Regions from separate parts of the Homo sapiens genome. Here all the other regions are linked to region 3. Evidence: promoter capture Hi-C in 16 types of primary human blood cells and fetal thymus (Javierre and others, 2016). All regions are on one chromosome and are shown on one strand. The core of a region is centred on a gene start or on the middle of the fragment in contact, and the rest is flanking DNA. Distances in the headings are between cores, read along the strand shown. Region 1 has its middle 15 kb from the start of CLDN4. Region 2 holds the start of LAT2 (linker for activation of T cells family member 2). Region 3 holds the start of ELN (elastin).

Region 1 (4,115 bases), core at 1,327-3,826, 210 kb after region 3:
TGGACTATTCCTGCAACTTTTCCGTAGATTTTTTTTTTTTTTGAGATGGAGTCTTGCTCTGTTGCCCAGGCTGGAGTGCAGTGGTGTGATCTCGGCTCACTACAACCTCTGCCTCCCAGGTTCAAGTGATTCTCCTGCCTCAGCCTCCCGAGTAGCTAGGATTACAGGCGCCCACCACCACGCCTGGCTAATTTTTGTATTTTTAGTAGAGACGGGGTTTCACCATGTTGGCCAGGCTGGTCTTGAACAACTGGTCTCAAGTGATCCGCCCACCTCGGCCTCCCAAAGTGCTGGGATTACAGGCTCAAGCCACCGCACTCAGGCTTCTGTAGCTTTTTAAGTTTTTCTTTTTTCCTCTTTTTTTTTTTTTTTTTTTGATACAGGGTCTCACTCTGTTGCCCAGGCTGGAGTGCAGTGGCGCCATCTTGCCTCACTGCAACCTCAACCTCCCCAGGCTCAGGTGGCCCTCCCACCTCAGCCTCCTAACTGAGACTACAGGCACATGCCACCACACCCAGCTAATTTCTGTATTATTTGTAGAGATGGGGTTTTGCCATGTTGGCCAGGCTGGTCTTGAACTCTTGGGCTCAAGCAATCCACCCACCTTGGCCTCCCAATGTGCTAGGATTACAAGTGTGAGCCACTGCGCCCAGCCAGCCTGGTTTTAAGTTTGCAAAATAAAAACTGGAGAGAAAAATTAAGAAGGGGAGAGTCAGGTGAGTGAGTAGGAGGAACTCACCTCCTAGGTGGAAAAACATGTGGCAAAGGCCCGGAGGCATGGGAGAGCTGGGGTAGGACCTGGGGCCTGGGAGGTGTGGCTGAAAGAAGGTGAGAGAGGGCAACTGGAGGTGGAGGGGCCGGTGCTATGGTTTATGGTTTCCATATTTGTCCACTTGAAATCTCATGTTGAAATTTTTTTTCCCGAGATGGAGTTTTGCTCTTGTTGCCCAGGCTGGAGTGCAATGGCGTGATCTCGACTCACTGCAACATCCGTCTCCCGGGTTCAAGTGATTCCCCTGCCCCAGCCTCCTGAGTAGCTGGGATTACAGGCATGCGCCACCACACCCAGCTAATTTTTGTATTTTTAGTAGACACAGGGTTTCACCATGTTAGTCAGGCAGGTCTCAAACTCCTGACCTCAGGTGATCCGCCCACCTCGGCCTCCCAAAGTGCTGGGATTACAGATTTGAGTCACCTCACCCAGCCCAGTGTTGAAAATTGATCCCCAGTGTTGGAGTTGGATCTGGTGGGAGGTGTCTGGGTTCTGGGAACAGATCCCTCATGAACGGCTTGGTACCATTCTTGCAGAAGGGAGCGAGTTCTCACTCTTAGTTCCTGCAAGAACTGGTTGTTGAAGAGAGCCTGCCACCTCCTTGCCCCACTCCCCACCAACTCTCTCTACCTTCTTCTGTCATCATGTGATCTGCAAACACCTTTGGAAACTTCCTGAGGTTCTCACCATAAACGGGTGCTGGCTGGGCGAGGTGGCTCACGCCTGTGAATCCAAAGCTTTGGGAGGCCAAGGCTGGGGAGGATTACTTGAGCCCAGAAGTTCAAGACCAGCCGGAGCAACGTAGTGAGATTCCATCTCAAAAAAAAAGGACATTTTTTAATTAGCCAGGTGTACCAGTGCACACCTATAGTCCCAGTTACTTGGGAGGCTGAGGTGGGAGGATCACTTGAGCCAAGGAGTTGGAGGCAGCAGTGAGCTAGGATCTCACCACTGCACTCCCACCAGGCAGCAGAGTGAAACCTTGTCTCTCATAAAGAGGCAGATTTCGAGACCAGCCTGGCCAACATAGAGAAACCCCGTCTCTACTAAAAATACAAAAATTAGCTGGGCGTGGTGGTGAACACCTGTAGTCCCATCTACTCAGGAAGCTGAGGCAGGAGAATTGCTTGAACCCAAGAGGTGGAGGTTGCAGTGAGCCCAGATTGCACCACTGCACTCCAGCTCTGGAGGAACAGAATGAGACTCTGTCTAAAAAAAAAAAAAAAAAAAAAAAGCAGCAGATGCTGGCACCATGCGTCCTGTACAGCCTGCAGAACCATGAGCCAAATACACCTCTTTCCTTATAAATTTATCCAGCCTTGGGGGGAAGGGGGAGGGATAGCATTGGGACAAATACCTGATGTAAATGATGAGTTAATGGGTGCAGCACTCTAACATGGCACGTCTACATATCTAACAAAGCTGCAGGTTGTGCACATGTACCCTAGAACGTAAAGTATAAAAAAAAAAAAAACCTTATCCAGCCTCAAGTATTCCTTTATAGCAGCACAAAAGGGTCGAAGTCATCCAGAGAAGCCAGAATCTTCAGGGTGAGATGCTGAGAAGAGCTTCAGTGCAGGTGTGCCAGCCCAGGGACAGTGCGGGGACGGCAAGGGGACAGAGGCAGCAGACGATCAGCTCAAGGCAGGATGGACCTGCTTCCTTGCCTGGCTTCCTCATCCAGCCCATCCTTGCCCAGGCCCCAGAGCTACCCAAGGGCTGGGTCATACCAGCGAACACACACACAAGGCTCTCCCTGTCCCCATGTCCCCAGCTCCGTGACCACCAAAGCCACAATTCCCTGCTCTCTCTCCAGCATCTGACCCAGCACCCTGTACGTCTGGCTTCACCGCTTTTGGGGATGTGGCATTCCCTGTCCCATCTAACATCACCATGGATGAGTCTGGTCCAAAATGACCTTCCCAATTATTTCCCTTCTCTGTGTTCTGGATGGACTGGGGAGAGATCAGACCTTTTTATCTTGGAGGACAAGGCCAGTAACAATTATTTATTTATTTATTTATTTTTATTTTTGAGACGGAGTTTCGCTCTTGATACCTGGGCTGGAGTGCAATGGCGTGATCTCGGCTCACTGCAACCTCCGCCACCCGGGTTCAAGCAATTCTCCTTCCTCAGCCTCCCGAGTAGCTGGGACTACAGGAGCACACCACCACGCCCAGCCAATTTTGTATTTTTAGTAGAGACGGGGTTTCTCCGTGTTGGTTAGGCTGGTCTCAAACTCCTGACCTCAGGTGATCCGCCCACCTCGGCCTCCCAAAGTGCTGGGATTACAGATGTAAGCTGCTACACCCAGCTCTTTTCTATTTTTTATTTTTTAGAGACAGGGTCTTACTCTGACACCCAGGCTGGAGTACAGTGGTGCGATCATAGTTCACTGCAGCCCTAATCTCCTGGGGCTCAAGTGACCATCCAGCCTTAGCTTCCTGAGTAGCTGGAACCACAGGTGCATGCCAACATGCCCAGTTAAATTTTTTTTTTTTTTTTTGGTAGAGGCAGGGTCTTGCTATGTTTCCCAGGCTGGTCTTGAACTCCTGGCATCAAGTGATCCTTCCACCTTGGCCTCCCAAACTGCTGGGATTATAGACATAAGGCACTACACCCAGCTCTTGTTTGTAGTTTCTCTTTGTAGTGATGAAAATGTTCTAAAATTGACCGTGATGATGGTTGCACACCTCTGTGAGTATCCTAAAAGCCATTGAAATGTGCATTTTGAAAGGGGGAATTGTATGATATGTGACTTCTATGTCAATAAAGCTGCTTCAAAAACAATAATTAGCACTTCTCGAATGCCTGTCCAATGCCAGGCTGGCCCCCCACAGACACTATTAACCCGCAGGACACAGAAGCTTGGTGGATTAAAGTGACTCACCCAGAGTCACACAGCTAGTGGAGTTAGAATTTGAACCCAGAACCACTGGTAAACAGTTATAGCTCAATAAAGCTGCCTCAGCTATTCTGGAGGCTGAGGAGGGAGGATCACTCCGGCCCAGAAGTTTTTGGGGTTTTTTATTTTTGTTTTTGAGATGGAGTCTCACTCTGTCACCCAGGCTGGGGTACAGGGGTGCGATCTCAGCTCACTGCAACCTCCTCCTCCCAGTTTCAAGCAATTCTCCAGACTCAACCTCCCAAGTAGCTGGGATTACAGGCACATGCCACCAAGCCCAGCTAATTTTTGTATGTTTAGTAGAGACAAGGTTTCACCATGTTGGCCAGGCTGGTCTCGAACCCCTGACCTCAGGTGATCCACCTGCCTCAGCCTCCCAAAGTGCTGGGATTACAGGCATGAGCCACCGTGCCTGGCCCAAGCCCAGAAGCTTGAAGC
Region 2 (4,052 bases), core at 221-2,720, 180 kb before region 3:
AAAAAATAAAAAATAAATAAAAAATAAAAAATTAGCCAGGTGTGGTAGCACGTGCCTGTAGTCCCCAGCTACTTGGAAGGGTAAGGCAGGAGAACTGCTTGAACCTGGGAGGTGGAGGTTGCAGTGAGCCGAGATCACGCCACTGCACTCCAGCCTGGACAACAGAGTGAGACTCCGTTTAAAAAAATTCTGTGCTCTCTCTCTGTCTCTGTCTCCCTTTGTGTCTCTGTCTCGCTCTCACTTTCACTCTCCCATCCAGGTTCTGAAAGCAGGTGGGCTGAGGTGGAGGGAGCGGAGGGTGGACCCTCTGAGGCCCCCAGGGGCCGGCAGGGCTGGGCGGGGTGGGGAGTGGGGGCTGCCACAGACCACGGTTCTGCAGAGGCCAAAATAGCACTAAAGGGAAGTGGGCAGTTTTCATATGAACAACGATTGCCAAGAGCTGGCTTCGGGGAAGTTCTCGGGGCTGGGCTGGAGGAGCTACAGTGTCTGAATCCCGCCTGGAAGGACGCTCGAGACCACCCTGCCGGTTCTCCCAGCCTTCTCCGAGCTGAGCTGTGGTTGGGGACACTGGGGTTGGGGAGGGGGCAGCCTGGCTTGAAGCCCTGGATGGCTTTATCCACTGGACTCTGCTCTGGGGTCTGTTGGTTTTTTCATTTAGTTTTTAATTATATTTTTTTATTTTTATTTTTTAAAGAGATGGGAGTCTCACTATGTTGCTCAGGCTGGTCTCCAGCTCCTGACTTCAAATGATCCTCCCGCCTTGGCCTCCCCAAATGCTGGGATTACAGGTTGAGCCACCGTGCCCGGCTGGTCCTGTTGCTTTTTCCAAATAACTCTGGGCTTCAAATGAGCCTAGCTGGGAGGGAGAGAGGGAGGCGGGCGGGTGCAGGAGGGGCCTGAGCAGCCCTGGTCCCAGGGACAGAGTTGAGGGCCAGGTAGGGGGCTGGGCAGGGAGGCAGTGGGGGTTCTTCACCTGACCTGGGGCAAGACCTGGGCCCTGGCCTGTAATCCCACCGTTTTCCCCTGACCTGTGTAGGGGGTTACAGTCCCATTTCACGGATGAGGAAACCGAGGCTCCCAGGCCAGGGCAGCCACTGTTTTGGCTCTCGGCCACTTACTTCACCAGTCTCTGGCAATGATGGGACCACCCTGGGATGTCCCAAGGCTACACAGGCTGGACAGGGGAAGGCGAGGGCAAGAGAGTGGCCAGAAGCCCAGAAACAAACTGACCCCTGAAGTGCCACAGAGCCTGGTGCCAGGGTGAGAGTGGGGCTGCGGGAGGGGGCGCCAGGCATCCAGGCCTCTTCCCACCCCACCCAGTGGGGCCAGGAGCTCCTGGGGGATGGGGGACAGCCTGAGGACTGAGGCACCCCTGGGAAAGGCTTACCTGAGAGTCCAGGGTTCCTCACCACGGCCGCCCCATCCTGAGCCCGCACACCTGCCCAAGCTGATGCCAACACCACTGACACTGGCGGGCGGGCAGGGCGGGCTTCCTGCCAGCCACTGAATCATCCGTACATCCGCCGCACTGCCGGACAGGCTCAGCTATGAAGAGGGCGGTGGGGGGAAGGGAGGGGAGACGGGGGAAGGAGGCGGGAGAGAGAGAGAGAAGAGAAACAAAGTGAGAGGGAGAAAGAGAAGAAAGAGAGATAGGACCGGGCGAGGTGGCTCACACCTGTAATCCAAAAACTTTGGGAGGCCGAGGCGGGTGGATCACGTAAGGTCAAGAGTTTAAGACCAGCCTGGCCAACATGGTGAAACCCCGTCTCTATTAAAAATACAAAATTAGCTGGGCATGGTGGCATGTGTCTGTAATTCCAGCTACTCGGGAGGCTGAGGCAGGAGAATCGTTTGAACCTCAGAAGCAGAGGTTGCAGTGAGCCGAGATCGCACCACTGCACTCCAGCCTGGGTGACAGAGGGAGACTCCGTCTCAAAAAACAGAAAGAAAAAGAGAGAGACACAGCAGAGAGACACAAGAGAACAGGAAAATATGGACACACACTAAACACACACATAAACACAAAAAGTCACACAGAGAGGAAGAGAGATACACTCCAATAGACAGGGAGCAAGATAATGAAACTGAGGTGCTCCTGCAGATGGCAGATATGGAGACACACATACGCTAAAAAGACACACACAGGCAGAAATTCACACCCATGGGCCGGGCGCGGTGGCTCATGCCTGTAATCCCAGCACTTTGGGAGGCCAAGGCAGGCAGGTCATGAAGTCAGGGGTTCAAAACCAGCCTGACCAACATGGTGAAACCCCATATCTACCAAAAATACAAAAATTATCTGGGTGTGGTGGCGGGTGCCTGTAATCCCAGCTACTCGGGAGGCTGAGGCAGGAGAATTGCTTGAACCCAGGAGGTGGAGGTTGCAGTGAGCCAAGATAGCGCCACTGCACTCCAGCCTGGGTGACAGAGCAAGACTTCATCTCAAAAAAAAAAAAAAAAAGAAGAAGACACACACAGGCAGAAATTCATACCCATGGGCCAGGCACGGTGGCTCATGCCTGTAATCCCAACACTTTGGGAGGCTGAAGCAGGAGAATCACCTGAGGTCTGGAGTTCAAGACCAGCCTGGCCAACATGGTGAAACCCCATCTCTACAAAAAATTTAAAAATTAGCTGGGCATGAGATGGACCAAGACACACACAGAGAGACACACAGAAAGATACAGAGAGCCACAGACTGTCAGAGACACACACAGATGGGGAGAGAGCAAGAAACAGGGAGATAGAGGCCAGGTGCAGTGGCTTGCACCTGCAATCCTAACATTTTTGGAGGCTGAGGCAGGAGGATCGCTTGAGAACAGGAATTTGAGACCAGCCTGGACAACAGAACGAGACCCCATCTCTAAAAAAATTTTTTTAATTAGCTGGGTGTGGTGGCACACACCTGTAGTCCCAGTGTTTTGGGAGGCCAAAACGGGAGGATTTCTTGAGCCCAAGAGTTGGAGGCTGCAGTGAGCCGTGACTCTGCCACTGCACTCCAGCCTGGGGGACAGCAAGACCCTGTCTGTCTGTAAAAACAATAAATAGGCCGGGCGTGGTGGCTCACATCTGTAATCCCAGCACTTTGGGAGGCCAAGGCAGGTGGATCACCTTATTTAGGTCGGGAGTTTGAGACCAGCCTGGCCAAAATGGTGAAACCCCATCTCTACTAAAAATACAAAAATTTGCCGGGTGTGATGGTGGGTGCCTGTAATCCCAGCTACTTGGGAGGCTGAGGCAGGAGAATCACTTGAGCCCAGAAGGCGGAGTTTGCAGTGAGCCAAGATCGTGCCACTGCACTACAGCCTGGACAACAGAGCGAGACTCCATCTCAAAAAAACAAAACAAAAACAAAAAAACCCAAAAAACACAACAAAAAAATTTAAAATAATAATAATTATTATTTAATTAATAGCTCAATGGCCTTGGGCAGCTGTTTAATGGTCAATAGCACAAGGCAGTCCACCCACTTGTGGGATGTGGCTTTATTGACCTCAGGTGCCAGAGCATCCTGGCCTCCACAGGGAACTATCTCACTCGGTCCTCATGTCTGTGTGGATGGCAGCCACGGTGTCCACCCCAGGGCTGGGCACAGGAGCACCGCTGGGCAGGAGTGGGCTGTGGTCCCTCTGCCTGTGCTATGAGCCGTTCTCTGCACCCCGATGCCAGGAGCCTCATCTGTGCAGTGGGGTGATGAGACCCCCAAGGCTGGGGTGGAGCAGGGCTCTCCTTCCTTCTCCCACCCTTTAGCGCCCTCGCTGTCTGCAGCCTCTGACACTCGTGCCGTCCACTCCTCCACCTGTCTTTGGTCACTTGTTCCATCTGCCCTGCCCTCGTGGCCTCTGCAGGGGTCTCTCTGTCCCTGCCCTGCCCACCTACATCCCGCATCCTTTGTCTCTGTGTCCATCTGTCTCATCCTCTGGGACTCTTGCTGTCTGACCCTCTGTCTCTATTCCTCGCCTGCTTTTTTTTTTTTTTTTTGAGACAGGGTCTCACTCGGTCCAGAGGTGAAGCTGAATTTGAACCCAGACCCCAAAGCCTGGCTTCCTCAC
Region 3 (4,160 bases), core at 954-3,453:
TTGTCCCCTCCTCCTGCTCCCCCACCCCCGCAACAGGGTTCCTTCCTTGGAGCCGCTGAACTTGCATAAGTGACACCCTCCTCCTTGAGGGAGAAGCCAGGCTCCCCCAGGACAGCCAGGTGAGTGGCAGTGAGCATGTGACTGAGCGCTCCACTCCCTGTGTTGGCTCCCCGACCTCTGCAGACTTCAGTAGCACTTCTGTGCAAAACCCCACACGAGCTCATCAGTTCACACACCCCTTATTTGGACCTAGCAAGTCCAGCCACCTGGGACAGAGCTGAGATTGATCTCTGCAAAGTGTGAGGCCAGCTGGGCGTTTAGCGGTGTCACTGAGGACACAAGGAGAGAGCTGATTCTGCCTAGGGCATGCCTGCTTTAAGGACTCAGCCCCAAGCCTTCCCCTCCCCAAATGTTGCCTGCTAGCTCACTCCTAACCCCCTTGCCCCTTGACCTGGGGCAGAGAGCTGGCTGATACTAACCCCCGGGGACTGCCTTAGCCTGCCGGAGCCTCAGCTTCCTTGTTTGTCAAGTGATGATAATAATTTCTAATTCTCAAGGTTCCTTGATGATGAACTGCCACCCTATAGGTGGTGGCCCCATCTGGGAAGAAGGGTGGCTGGGTGTTTGGGGGCTACACCTGGGGAGGAGGCTGAGACGGACCCGGGGCTGCTGCTTTCAGGCCCTGGCTCGTTGCCCCTGCTGGGGCCCGCCTGTGGGTACCCATGTCCCTTGGCCTCATCCAGGTCCAGCAGCGGACCCTGCACAGGAAGCTGTTCAATCTCACGGAAACAGCTGCAGCTCCTGCCCAGGCCCTTGACTCCACCCCGTGGCCCTCCCGCCCCCCACTCAGCGTTTGGTTCTCATGGCAAGGAGGACTCCCGAGGAAACCAGACTCCACCCAGACCCCCCTACCAAATGCCCTCCTTTTTCCCATGCCCGGGAGCCTCTTCTGTCCTCCCCCGTTGGCCGCGGCATAGCAGCCCCACAGGGCACACCCTCAAACCCCATAACCAACTGTGCCTGGGTTGGGGCACATAGCAGATGGCCCAGCAGTGCCCCAGGATCCACTCCAGCCTCTGTCTCAGCCACACTGCCTCTGCCAGGAGACAGACACCTTCTCCAGCCCGCCTTTCCATGCTTGCGTGCCACATCGCACACACATTCACACACACAGATGTACACACTCCATAACACACACAGTGACAGTCCACACCAGTGTCACACCTGGATGCCAGATCGCCCATGTCTACATGTGTACATGTCTACATGTCTGTCAGGTGGCAGACTTTTGCACACACTAAGGAGCAGCTTCATATACCTCCTCCAAACATACGCATACACCTGCCTAAGGATGAACCTGTGAGCAGACATATGTACCCCTCCAGAAATCCCTTTCCCTGTTCAGTGACACAGCCGGGCATCTGAACACATGCACACCTGTGCATGCACACATACACACACGAGCACACAGCACGCTCATTCCTGTGTGCATGCACACACACACACACACACAAATGCATACCAGGAGTCCCTGCCTGCCTCAGCAGGGAGAACACAGCAGCAGCTTCCCAACCTGCAAACCCATCCTCAGCGGAGCCCTGACCTTCCTGACGGGGGGATCCCGGCTTCCCAGGGGTCAAGGAACCTGCTGAGGTCACACAGCTCACTGCGGTTGAGCTGGTATCAAGCCCAGGTTCCCTGTCCCCAGGGCTGGTGTGCACCCCAGCTGTGTCCACAGGTGTGCAGACTGTGGTGTCTCCAGACCCAGGGGTTCCCGCTGGGCCCTCCCCCAGGATGCTCTGATCCCCCTACAGGGCGGGCACCCGGGCACCTGAGCAGGGGCCCCCTCAGCCCTCGCAGGGCAGCAAAGCCTGGATGCTGGGCTGGGACTATTCTGAGTCGAGGGTGTCTCTTTGACAGGTTCCTCCTGGGCACGGGGCTGGCTCCTGGGAGGGGCAGTTCCGAGGACCCAGTGGCTGAGGGGCTCCCACCTGGGACCCCTTGCAGTTCCCAGGGACGAAGGTCTCCCCCTTGAGCGTCTAGTCACCTGGCCCAAAGGGCCCGCAGCTGTGGGCAGCGCTGGGGACAGGGGCGAGGGGTCCTTACCTCCAGGCCGAGAGGGGTGGAGGATGGACAGCAGGAGCAGGAGGACTCCGGGCCGCGGGGCCGCCGCCGTCAGACCCGCCATCTCGGGGAGAAATGCCCCAGCCCGCTCTCCGCACCTCGTTTTATCCCCAAAGCCTAATTGTTGCCTCGTCGGCTGTGAGGGAAAGAGGGAGGGAGAGAGGGCGGGCGGGAGGGCGGGAGAGGGGGGAGGCCTGGGGGAGGGGGCCGCGGGGAGGGGACAATTACGAAAGGCCCGGCTCACAAGCCTCCCAGGCCCGGGCTGCTGGACTGCGAGCTTTTTTCCTTGACACACACACGCACACACATGCACACAAGCACACACTCACACACACACACTTTCCCCCATCTCTTTCCCGCTTTCCCTCTGCGACTGTTCTTTCGCTGCTGGCCCTGTTCCCGCCAGAAAGAGCGAGGGGGGCCTCTGCCAGGACAGCCCTCGGGAGAGGAAGCAGAAGGGAGGGCCTGGCGGCCAGGCCAAAAATCCCAGCCCCAGCCAAGGCCCGAGTGGCCAGGCCCCCGCCCCTCCGGCTGGGCCCCGGGCCCAGTGTGAGGATACGGGCCAGCTGTCCCGCGCCTCAGCCCCCACCCCGGCCCTCCAGACTCCCCAACACCCCCAGGTCTGGCTAGAGACAGGTTCTGCCCAAAGCTGGGGAGGGGAGGCATTGGGCAGGTCTGGGGGTTTGGGGGGTGCGATGTCTACAGAGGCCGGGGGGCTGCAGGTTGAATGGCCTGGAAGGTAGGCCCGGGTTGGTATTGCTCTGGGAGGGATCTGGGGGGAAGGTAGGGGACCCTGGACAGGGCTGCATTCTGCAGGGGCCAAGGTCTCTGCCTAGCGCCTGAAGCTGGGGAGGAGGTGTTGGGTGGGTCTGGGGTGGATGCCTGCAGATGCCAGGGGGTTAGAGGCAGGGGAATGGCTTGGGAGTTAAGGCCATGTTGGTGCTGTCCCCAGGGGCATCTGGAGCACATGGAGGATCCCGACACACAGGGTTCTATTCTGCATGGGTCAAGGTCACAGCCCTATACCCAGCCCCATGCAGGCCGCAGGGTCTGGTAAAAATCAGGCTGGATCCCCAGGTGCCCTGTGGGGGAACAGGGAGGTGGGAGCCCCCCGCAGACTGACAGGCAGCCCAGCTTCCCATTATCACTGGGTCACCTCCCATCCCCACGCTGAGCACAGCTAGCGCCCACACCAGTCTGGGAGCTTCTCGACTGCTGTTCTCCCGGCCCCTCTGGGAAGGCTGACATTCCGCTGGTGGCCAGGAGGGGGCGGCCTGCACTGAAACAGCTGGGACCACGTTCCTGGAGAACTCTGCATTTCTGCCCCCAGGACTGAGCTGGACGGGGACCCTGGGGGATTTTGGGGGTTGGAGTGTGGGATGGAACAGGGGAGGGTCGTGTCCCCCACCCCTCACTTCCCACTACTGCTAGAGGAGAAGAAATGTGAGACCTAGAGAATAGGAGAGGGAAACTTGTTCCTTGTCCTAGGTCACAGCCAGTCAGGGAACAGCATGGAAGCCACACGCCCTGTGGGCTTTTCCCTGCACCACGATGGCTCCGAGGGATGAGTTAAAGACCCCTTGTGGAGGCAGGAGCACTGTGGCAGTCTGGAGTGCCAGCAGGGGTGGCTCAGCGTGGAAAGGTCAAATGCAGGCATTGGTCAAAGGCAGGTATTGGTGGACCTAGAAGTAAATTTCTGGCTCTAGCCTTTCTGGTAGGAAAACCTCTCCACAGAGCATCAGTTTCCTTATCTGTCTACAGGTGATCAGTATTCCTAGCTAAGAGATTATTGCAAAGACAAATACAACGTGGTCTTGTATTTCTGCTAGATCAAAAATGCTCTGTGTTCAGCTGGTGCTAGGACTGGTGTCAATACCACAGTTGCCGTCACTCGCTCTGCAAGTACTCTGCTTCTAGGACAGCTATCAGGCTTTGGTCTATACGGGGCCACCCCAGGACCCTGGACAAACCCTTCCTTTTCCCTGGGTCTTTGGAGGGAGCAGCTCTGGAATTTTGGAAGGTAGGGGCATGCTGGG

The links. Contacts are between HindIII fragments. The CHiCAGO score rates a contact against its expected background, and 5 or more counts as called.
Region 1: a fragment that was not itself captured here is called in contact with the fragment with the promoter of ELN in region 3 in 1 of 17 cell types (M0 macrophages); the score reaches 5.2 in M0 macrophages.
Region 2: the fragment with the promoter of LAT2 here is called in contact with the fragment with the promoter of ELN in region 3 in 1 of 17 cell types (erythroblasts); the score reaches 7.7 in erythroblasts.

What each region holds. Positions count from the first base shown.
Region 1 is chr7:73,813,992-73,818,106 of GRCh38, reverse strand. No RefSeq gene overlaps it. Among named protein-coding and RNA genes, the nearest start is that of CLDN4, 15 kb to the left of the region's middle. The HindIII fragment of the contact is 2,130 bases long and covers 1,512-3,641 here.
Region 2 is chr7:74,207,424-74,211,475 of GRCh38, reverse strand. LAT2 (linker for activation of T cells family member 2) reads right to left here and starts at 1,470. Exons shown (of 14, transcript NM_032464.3): 1 at 1,388-1,470. RefSeq lists silencers at 347-436, 1,547-1,596 and enhancers at 537-656, 1,877-1,986. The HindIII fragment of the contact is 29,775 bases long and covers 1-4,052 here.
Region 3 is chr7:74,026,216-74,030,375 of GRCh38, reverse strand. It overlaps ELN (elastin), which reads right to left and starts at 2,203. Exons shown (of 33, transcript NM_000501.4): 1 at 2,107-2,203. The coding sequence starts at 2,188. RefSeq lists enhancers at 876-1,847, 2,820-3,792. The HindIII fragment of the contact is 20,716 bases long and covers 1-4,160 here.